Regions from separate parts of the Homo sapiens genome. Here region 2 is linked to region 1. Evidence: promoter capture Hi-C in 16 types of primary human blood cells and fetal thymus (Javierre and others, 2016). All regions are on one chromosome and are shown on one strand. The core of a region is centred on a gene start or on the middle of the fragment in contact, and the rest is flanking DNA. Distances in the headings are between cores, read along the strand shown.

Region 1 (5,147 bases), core at 2,530-5,029:
ACAAATTAGCACAATTGTGGAATGACAGCTTTTCTGGTCAAGGCAAGTGGATGCTGGGGAGTTATTATTTTGAGGAAAAGAAAATTTCAAGCTTTTCACCATTATTCTTTTTAAACTATCAGAAATATTTATCACACATACTATCTATTTTCTTGGGCTCTTGTTACAATGTAGTTTACCTTTACTTTTCAAATGGTCCTTAGATCAAATTATTTGATTTTGTACTCCACAAAGACACATATTATTCCTTGCTTTTATAGAATTTTGAGACTTTGGCCCACACAAATTTCTTAGAAGACAATAAACCAGGTAAAAACACTAACTTGCAATTTTAGGTGTCTTTTTTATTTCTTTTACATTTGCATCCGTAGCAACCATTTAACCTTGTAGACCTTATGAGGCCCTCAATAATACTGTATTTCTAAAATTAGACAACATACCCCCCAAACTCATGTTTCTGTTTCCCTACTTTCTCTCTTACTTTAAAATTGTAGTATTCCCAAGAGTTCAGTGGTGGCAAATGTTAATAAAATAAGTTAGTACATTTTGGAGGTTCTTATATCCTTTGTAGGGTAAGCTGATAGTGTTTAGATTTCTGTTCCCATTATTCCAGTAGTGTTTTAAATTATTTAAGATAAATAATTACTGTAATGTTTGTTTTTAAGTTACATAATTCAAGTATGTTTGGATTAACTCTTTGTTGTCAAATTTAGTATGGATTTATTCCTGGTGATTTGGACAGATTACTTTGAAGTTTCATTTTACTCACATCTCTATATATTAGTGATAAAAATCTCTTTTAAAAATAGCAAAAAAGTGGTTCTGATTTTGTACTTTGAAGGTAATTTTTCTTTTTTACGAATGTCAGGTTCATTAACAATAGCAGGATTATTTTTACTATAGCTTATTTTGTAGAGTTGGCACTTTAGTATAATTTTCACATTTTATTGTGTCAGATTTTAAATTATAATAGTTATATACTATAACTCATTTAAGTCAATGCAAAGCCTTCTTAAATAGCCCCTCCCTTAGAAATTTGTTTAAAAAGAAGTGAATTCCCAAACCTGTGTCAAGAACTTGTGATTTAAATGACTGTGAGACAAGTCCTTGAAAGGCTTAAGTCTAGTCAGTGGAGATAAATGATAGCCCATTTCCATGCTGCATATAGTTGTTAGGGTTTATAAAGTTGTCAATGTGTAAAAGTGCAAAAGCAGGAAAGACTAAAGTTGCCTGTAAAATTTCTAGTTTTCATTATTTGCACTATTTATCTTTGCACTTGATTTTTTGAAAGTTAAGGCTAGTCACTTTCACTTTTGTTTCTAGTCTTTTCTAATTTCTTGCAGAATTGTGTTTTCAATATTCCACCCAAAGCAAAAATTATATGCAATTAAAAATATTTTATAAGGCCAAGAAAATATTTCTTAATGTTAGCTGTATAAAACAAAAATTTGTTCTGATAAAATTTTTAATATGGGCCTTTATTTGCCAATAAAATCCTTTGTAAATGTGAGCTTTATTAAACTGTTTAAATAGACAAAGTTAAAGCTTAGGATAGGGAATATATATGTATGTGTATATGAAATGATGTCTTCGAGTTTTAACTTCCAGCCTGAGATGGCCTAGATTTGGTGTGTTAGTTTGTTTCACTGAAGTCAGTGAGATAGGAGTCTAGCTGGGTACATGCTTAAAAAGCTGGAAGTGAAGTGGGTGGCAAGTGGCAGCTCCCTCTTTCATGTAGTTTTCCATAATGTTCATATAGTTTCCTTATGGTCTAAGTGTTACAACTGGTTTTCAAGTTGTTATATTGAATATTCCTTTTTGGAATTCAGGGTTGAATCACTTTGAGGGGGAAGGGAAGCAAGGGCAAGAGACTTTATTTTAACCAGATGCGGTCTTATGACCTCAAAGATGTGCTCTAGAAAGAAAATAACAAAAAGTGTACCTGTGAACATATTTTTTGTCTTGGTGATATTATGCAACACAGTGTTCAGAATTGCAAAAAAATTTAAAAATTGATAGTTTTATCAATGGAACAGAGAGATGTGTTTTTGGCTAAAATTATTTTTTGTAAGTTATTTGGTTATTTCATTTTATATTCCCTTTCCCATAGCTTTGTACACACCTCATACTTAAAACCAAGTGAGAGGCCTCTTTTCAGATCTGGTTTATTTTTGGAATGCCTGAGTGTGTTTCCAGATTGGGGGGGGAGAGGTGGTGTTTTACTTTTTGACATGCTCTTAGCATGTTTTGCTAGTCATTCTGGATCTTATGTTTGCAAATTCTGTTGAACATTCAGTGATGTATTTGAAATGAGAAAGTCCTTTATAACATAGTGTGAATGTTTGTGGCCAATTCAATTGTGGAATCTTATGGCTTTGTTTTTACTTTGGGTAGAAGTTTAACTTCCATTGTTCAGATTTTAGGTTTATCTAGTGAAATTGTGCCAGGTAGTTGTCTAAATATGGACCAATTTTGGGAAATGAAGATTAATAAGTGTATATTTGATTCTAGATAATCCTTTACTCAAAATCATAAGTTAAAGATTCACATCATTAAGAGTTATCTAACTTTTATGTTGTCAAATCTTTAAATGTGGATGATATTCAGCATTCTATCTATGAATTTCCTTTAGGAAAAGAGAAAAATTCAGTCTCCAAACCTTTTCTTGGAGACAAAATTTACCACATATCGAAAATGAAAAAAATTTAGAAAGCGATTTGATTATTTTTTAATGGAGTTTAACCAGCTTAATTAATGATTTTTCCAGTTTGAAGCACTTATTTTCCCAATGTGAATAAAGGGAAAAGATCAGCAATTTGTCCCTGGCCTTTTTCGAGGCCATTTTTAGTTTTCTGCCCCCATTTCCCAGTCCTGGTATAAAATGAATTACGGGTATCCCTCTAAGTCCCTATAACCCTTTTTGGGGGTCACAGATATCTTTGATAATCTGATGACAGTGTGATGGATCCTCTACCCAAGAAAAAAAAAATGCCCATCCCTGGATAATTTTGCATACAACTTCAGGGGCATCACACATCTTCTGAAACCCAAGTTAAAGATCTCTGCTCTAAGTAAATTGTAGAGAATTTTAGTGCAAATCGTTGATAAAATTAGGAACCAACTATTGGCTTAAAACCTTTCATATTGGAATTATTGTTAGATGGTGGCCCCTACTAGCAAAATGTGACATTGCAACCAGCTTCGTTAGACATTATAACAACCAGAGAGAAGGGAAAAAAGCAAAGTTCTGAAAGCTATTTATAAGGAGTCAGGGCATCTCTAGACATGGGAGCCTTCCTGGTTCAAGGCAGGGGTCAGGGTGCCTGACAATTTCTAGCAGGGTAGAGTTTGATAAACCACAATGCTCAGGATGCCAAGGGGTTAGCCATTATCTTAACCCCTTCCTCACCAAAAGATTTTAGTTTTGTCTGTTGGGAAACAAGATGTCACTAGGGAAAAAAAGATTTGCCTTACAACTTTGCTGGAACACATCAGTTTGGTGACGTTGGGACACTAGTGTTATTTTTGAGAAGGCGCATAAAACCAAAGTAAATTATTCTCTATGTAGAACATTTATTTACTAGTAACATTTGTTTGCGTGTATTCGCTTTGACAATTTTTACCAGTAAATATTGGTTTTATTTAAAACTGGGAATCCAGTTGATATATAGGATAGTTGATACATCTGTTCTTTCCCCCATGTAAAGCATAGTTAAAAGATTTATGCATACTTTTTACTTTTCTCTCTTAATGCCATGGGGTGGGGAGGGTGGGTGGGGGAAAGATTTTTGAGTCTACAACTGACAAAATGTCTTCTTCAAATTAAAAAAAATTGAGAAGCAGCACTTTAAGTCTAACTCTACACCATTTTATTGCATGTATTAGTTTTATTAATGATTTTTGGTGCATGCCTTTGGGCTTATTCAAAAGTGTACAATAGGAAAGTATATTTCCTTTCTTAGAAAGGAGATGTTTTCTACTTTGCAACATGTGATTACAAAAATCTTCCTCTGTGGGAAGATTAACCATGTATTGAACTACTGAAAAGTATATATTTTTAGATATACAGAAGGAATCTACATGGAGCAGCATTCAGACCTATATAGAAGTCATAGCATTCTGTATAGGACCAAAAAGGAAATAACATTAAACACTTAAACAGACGTTGTTGGGTAGAAATACCTTTAGATCTTGCATTTACTTCCAAAAAGAAAAAATGCCACAGAAGTTTGCTGAAAACTTTTGTCGTTTGAATTTTCTCTGTCAGTGTATTTAGCCCAAATACAACAGCTTTGGGTTAGCACACACATAAGAATCAAAAAAACAAAGCTCACTAAATAAATCAGTCTGGTTTGCCAATCCAGCTTGACTGAAATAAGTAAACCAATCACTTGCAACATGAAAAACTGTCCAACTCCTCTAAGGTTCTGACAAAATAACCTTGGCTGATGTGGGAAGACTCCCACTTTGATTACTGACCTGACAGTGAAGATTCATGCTTGACATGATTTCAGACTTGACAATGTCTGTTTAAGGAGCTATGGTACAGTTTGCTAATTCAATCCCAGATACCTGTTGATTACCTGTGAGATCTAGAGTCCAAAGTAGCCAGCAGCCATATCCCTGAGTGCTCTGTGCCCATCAGATATCTTAAAGTAAGCAGGGTTGGGACAGGTCACAGCTTGGATGATTGACCTCAGGTGCCGTAGACAGCCCCAGATTCAAGAATTGTATCTGCTTTCTTGGCAGTCGTCACTGAACTAATGTCCCATACTGTGTTACTTACTGTAGATGCTCTCTTTTAGAGGAGGCCCAGAGCACACATCCTAATCGCTAGCGGTACTCAGAGAGGGGGTGCTAACTCTGATGCCCTGGCCAAATTCCAGTTTAGGGATGTGGGTCTTCTTCTTGTCATTCTAATTGGAAATGTGCATCACTTCCCATTTTTCTTACTGATCTCAGTGCAAACTACACTAGTCTGTTTCTTTGCCCTGGTCTCAAGTCTCTAAGACGCTGGTGTGTATTATGTGGGCTAAGTTCATGTGTTATCCTAAGGCACAAGAGTTGAGGAATGGGTGAGCTTGGTGTCAGAGCACTGTGTGGTTGGAGGGTGGACTCTTGTGATGCTGTGGGGATGAAATTGGCCC
Region 2 (4,863 bases), core at 2,026-4,525, 54 kb before region 1:
AGGGCTGGGGCAGCATAGATACATTGGAGCCTAGGACACCCTGTTATGCCATCCTGTTAAGGAAGTGCTAAAAGAAAAAAAAAGTGACAGCATATTGCAAGGACATGAGGACTAGCTTGAAGGGGCCCCACTGGCCAAATCGGAGACAATTAAGCACCAAACTAGTACATATAATAATGAATTATAAACCATTGGTAAAACAGTGAGGGCCCAGAGCCAACTGATCCATTAGGCACAGTGTCTGAGACCCATGATACTTTCAAAGGCGCATGAAAATGTTTTAACTTCTTTTAAAAGAAATCAGAAGAAAAATAAATGCACTGGCAATAACATCCTGGATTATATTTATCTTCATAGCAACAAAGTCATCAAATATAATTTTTTAAAATCATATGGAGGAACAATAAAGACAAAAGTGCCGAGGGCCCAAGAAAGTCATAAGGCTGCCCTTCTAGGGACAACTGGCCAATGGGGACCATGTGCTAAACTGGAAAATTATCATTTTGCAACTTTCATAGTACAGATTAATTCAAGCAAGAATCATCAATAGAAGTTAAATCTAAAGGAAATTTTTGGTAAGGAATAAGATATTGGCACCATCTTAAAATGTGTCACCCACAGACTTATTAGTCGCAGGAAAGAAAGAACAAAAGATGATTATACAGTGGAAAACTAAGGCATCACTTTGATTGGATGATCAAAATTAATATTATCTTTGAGAGATAGATGGACATCGTGTGCCTCCAGATCCTGAGAAGGTCACAACATCACCTATGCAATATTCGTGCTGAGAGTGTATAAATGCAATCTAATCATGAGGAAACATCAGACAAACAAAACGAAGTGTTCTATTAAAAAAAAGAAAGGTGGGAGAGTTGTATTCTTCAAAAATGTCAATGTCAAAAAAGACAAAGACTGTGGAAATGTTCCAGATTTAAGGTGGCTAAAAAGACATGGCAATTAAATGCAATATTTGACCCTAAAATTGAAGCTGTACTGGAAGGGGAAAAAACCTGTGAAGGACATGATTAGATCAGCTAAAACTTTTGGAATGTGAACAGTAAATTAGATGATAGCATTCTATCAAGGTAAACTTATGAAGTCAGTAACTAGAGCAAACCCCTTTCCTTCAGAAATACATGCTGAGCTGAGCCCTATGACAAACTCCTGTGGTCCCAGCTACTGAAGGTTGAGGTAGGAGGATCACTTCAGGCCAGGAGTTCAAGGCTAGCCTGGGTAATATATTGAGACCCTATATCTCAATTAATCAATCAATCAATGCCGGATGATTTGAGGATAAAAAGCCATGAGCCATGATATATACAGCCTGGCATGGTGGCATACACCTGTGGTCCCAGCTACTTGGGGGCACTGAGGCATGAGGATCACTTGAACCCAGGAGGTTGAGCCAAGATCATGCCACTGAACTCCAGCCTAGGTGACAAAGTGAGACCTTGCCTTAAAAAAAAAAAGATATATGTAACCTACATCAAATGGTTTAAGGAAAAAATATGTGTGTGTGTGTGTGTGTGTGTGTGTCTGTGTAAACAGAAAGAGAATGTTAGCAATGGCTGAATCTTTGTAAAGGATATTCAAATGTTCCTTGTATGATTTTTACTTTTGCAACTCCTTATAAGTTTGATATTATTTTTAAATAAGTTTTTGAAAACTTAAGAAATAATAAATATATTAGAGTGTCACATACACTGTATGATGACATTGGCTGGAGTTTTCATGTTATAAACAGTTTCTCATCTTATCATATAATCTTTGAGTCTATTATTTTAAATGTCTACATAGCATTCTATCAAACTGATATGCTAGAGTTTGCTGAGCTATTGCTTTACTGTTAAAATTTTAAATTACCTTCAATTTTTTTTCTGTTTCAAACAGTGTTCACAGTTGTTAAGCTTCAGCACTCTAGAACCGTATTACCTATATTCAAAATCCCAGCTCTGTTATTTATTAGTTGTATGGCTTTGAGTAAATTATTTATCCTTCTATGCCTCACTTTCAAGTTAGGCATAAATAGTACTTATAGGGTTGTTGTGAGTATTAAATGAGATATTCATGTAAAGAACTGGCCGGGAGCAGTGGCTCACACCTATAATCATAGCACTTTGGGAGGCCAAGGCAGTAGGATTGCTTGAGCCCAGCAGTTCAAGACCAGCCTGGGCAACATGGCAAAACCGTCTCTACTAAAAATAGAAAAATTAGCTTGGTGTAGTGGTGCGCACCTGTATTCCCAGCTACTTGGGAGGTTGAGATGGGAGAATCACCTGAGCCCAGGAGGCAGAGGTTGTTGTAGTGAGCCAAAATGATGCCACTGCACTCCAGCCTGGGTATCAGAGTGAGACCCTGTCTCAAAACAAAATAAAATGAAATAAAAAAATTGCTAGTTGGAAAGTAAATTGATGAACAGTTTGGCAAACAATTAAAGTTTAACATTTATGTACCCTAAAATGCAAAAATTCCACTCCTAGATATATATCCAAAAGAAATTCTTGCACATATACAATAAGAGACATGGACCATGATGCTCATGACAGGATCATTCACAATAATAAAAACCTAGGAAAAAATCTTCAAAATGCCCATCAACAAGAGACTGAATAAACTAAATCCATAACCACAGTGGAATATTACACAGCTGTTTAAATGAACGAACTGTGGTGACATGCAACAACATGCATGAATCTTAACAAATACCACTAAGTGCAAAAATTATTGTGTGCCACATGATATTTTTTATTAAATTAAAAACATTTAAATATGCATATTTAGGAATGCTTATAAATACAATAACACTATATAAAAAGGAAAGCAAGGGAGTGGGGATTCAGGTTGATGGCTGCCTGGCATGGGAGGAGTTAGGGCATGGTACGGGTAGGGGCCTAATGTGGTAGGTTTATGGGTGCTTTTAATACTTTAAACAAATGGTTAGCTAGCTAGCCAGGCAGCAAAGTAGACAGCTCTGACTGCTATGTGAAGAATGGATCAAAGGAGTAGAAGCTGGAGCAGGATGACCAGTTAGGAAGATGTTTAGTATCCAGATGAAGGAGGGTGAGGCATTGTTCTCGAATGGTGGCCATTGAGATGGAGAGTATTGAACAGAATCAGAATCTATTCTGGAGGTAATGGAGAACTTGCTCTGATGACTTAGATGTGGGAGGCAAGGAATATTCTATTGTACAAATATTCCATAATTAAACTCTGCTCTTATGGTATATCTAAGTTGTTTACAATATTTTTTGCTCCAATAAAGGTCTAAAATGAACATCCTTGTACCTTAATCTTCATACAAATTCAATTAATGTCTTTCTTTTTTATGGTGTGTGATGTGATCCAATTTTATTATATTTAAGATTGTATTTTTTTTTTAGAGCAGTGTTAGGCACACAGCCAAATTGAAAGGAAGGTACAGAGATTTCCCTTATGGCCTCTGCCGTCATACATGTTCAGGCTCCCAATTACAATATCCCCCACCAGAGCGGTACATACATTACAACAGATAAACCTACATTGATACACCACTATCATCCAAAGTCTATACCTTACATTAGGGTTCACTCTTGGTGGTGTACATTCTATGGGTTTGGACATACATTCATTATAGTATCATATAGTATTTTCACTGCCCTGAAAATCCTCTGTGCTCCATCTATTCATCCTTCCCTCGCCCCATACTCTGGCAACTACTGATCCTTTTACTCTCTCCATAGTTTTGCCTTTTCCAGAATGTGATACAGTTTGGAATCATATAATACGTAACTTTTTCAATTGGCTTCTTTCACTTAGCAATATGGATTTAAGGTTCCTGCACGTCTTTTCATGGCTTGATAGCTTTTTTCTTTTTAGCAATGAATATTTCATTTACTGGGTATACCACAGTTTATTCATTCCTCTAATGAAGGCCAACTCAGTTGCTTTCAAGTTTTGGTAATTATAAAAGATGCTATAAACATCCATGTGCACGTCTTTGTATGGACATAAGTTTTCAACTCCTTTTGGTAAACACCAGAGAGTTCAAATGTTGGATTATATAGTAAGATGTATGTTTAGTTTTGTAAGAAGCTGTCAAACTATCTTCCAAAGTGGCTGTGCCCTTTTGCATTCCCACCAGCAATGAACCAGAGTTCCTGTTGCTCCACATCCTCACCAGCATTTGGTGTTGTCATGTTCTGGACTTTGGCCATTCTAATAGATATGTATCTTGAATTAATTTTTAAAAATCAACCTGCAGAAATAAAATTGCTATACCAAAGGATATGTGCATTAAATAAGGCTTTTGATACATATTACCAAGTTAGCTTCCTGAAGTGAAAGATTGTACCATTTTAGCTCCCACTAGCTTGGACAACATGACGAAATTTCATCTCTACAAAACATACAAAAATTCTCTGAGTGTGGTTGCCCGCGCCTAGTAGTCCCAGCTACTCCAGCGGCTGAGGCAGGAGAATCACTCGAGCTGGGGAAGTGGAGGTTGCAGTGAGCCAAGATCGCGCCGCTGCACTTCAGCCTGGACGACAGAAGGAGACACTGTCTTAAAGAAAAAAAAAAGAACAAGAAGAACTTACAGTACTGCCTGGAACATACTAAGCATACAACAAATATTAGCTATTTGAATAACTTTTGTACGTTAAGCTTTTTCCATTGGGGGGATCTAAACTTTTGCAATATTAATAGTTGAATATAAAGGCAATACTACTGATATTTTGGGATACATAAAATAATGTATAATGTAGAGATAGGAATGGCAATATTTCGAACAATGAAATAGATTATTTTATAATCTTTGCTTTCTTTAATTAAAAAAATAGGAATTCACCTAAAAAAGATATATCTGCTATTCTAAAATCTACC

The links. The method cuts DNA at HindIII sites, captures the fragments that hold promoters and counts their contacts. A CHiCAGO score of 5 or more calls a contact.
Region 2: a fragment that was not itself captured here is called in contact with the fragment with the promoter of IGIP in region 1 in 1 of 17 cell types (naive CD8 T cells); the score reaches 5.5 in naive CD8 T cells.

The regions. Positions count from the first base shown.
Region 1 is chr5:140,122,158-140,127,304 of GRCh38, forward strand. IGIP (IgA inducing protein) reads left to right here and starts at 3,780. Exons shown (of 1, transcript NM_001007189.2): 1 at 3,780-5,147. PURA (purine rich element binding protein A) reads left to right here. Exons shown (of 1, transcript NM_005859.5): 1 at 1-3,462. The HindIII fragment of the contact is 9,298 bases long and covers 1,544-5,147 here.
Region 2 is chr5:140,068,535-140,073,397 of GRCh38, forward strand. No RefSeq gene overlaps it. Among named protein-coding and RNA genes, the nearest start is that of NRG2, 28 kb to the left of the region's middle. The HindIII fragment of the contact is 2,734 bases long and covers 1,909-4,642 here.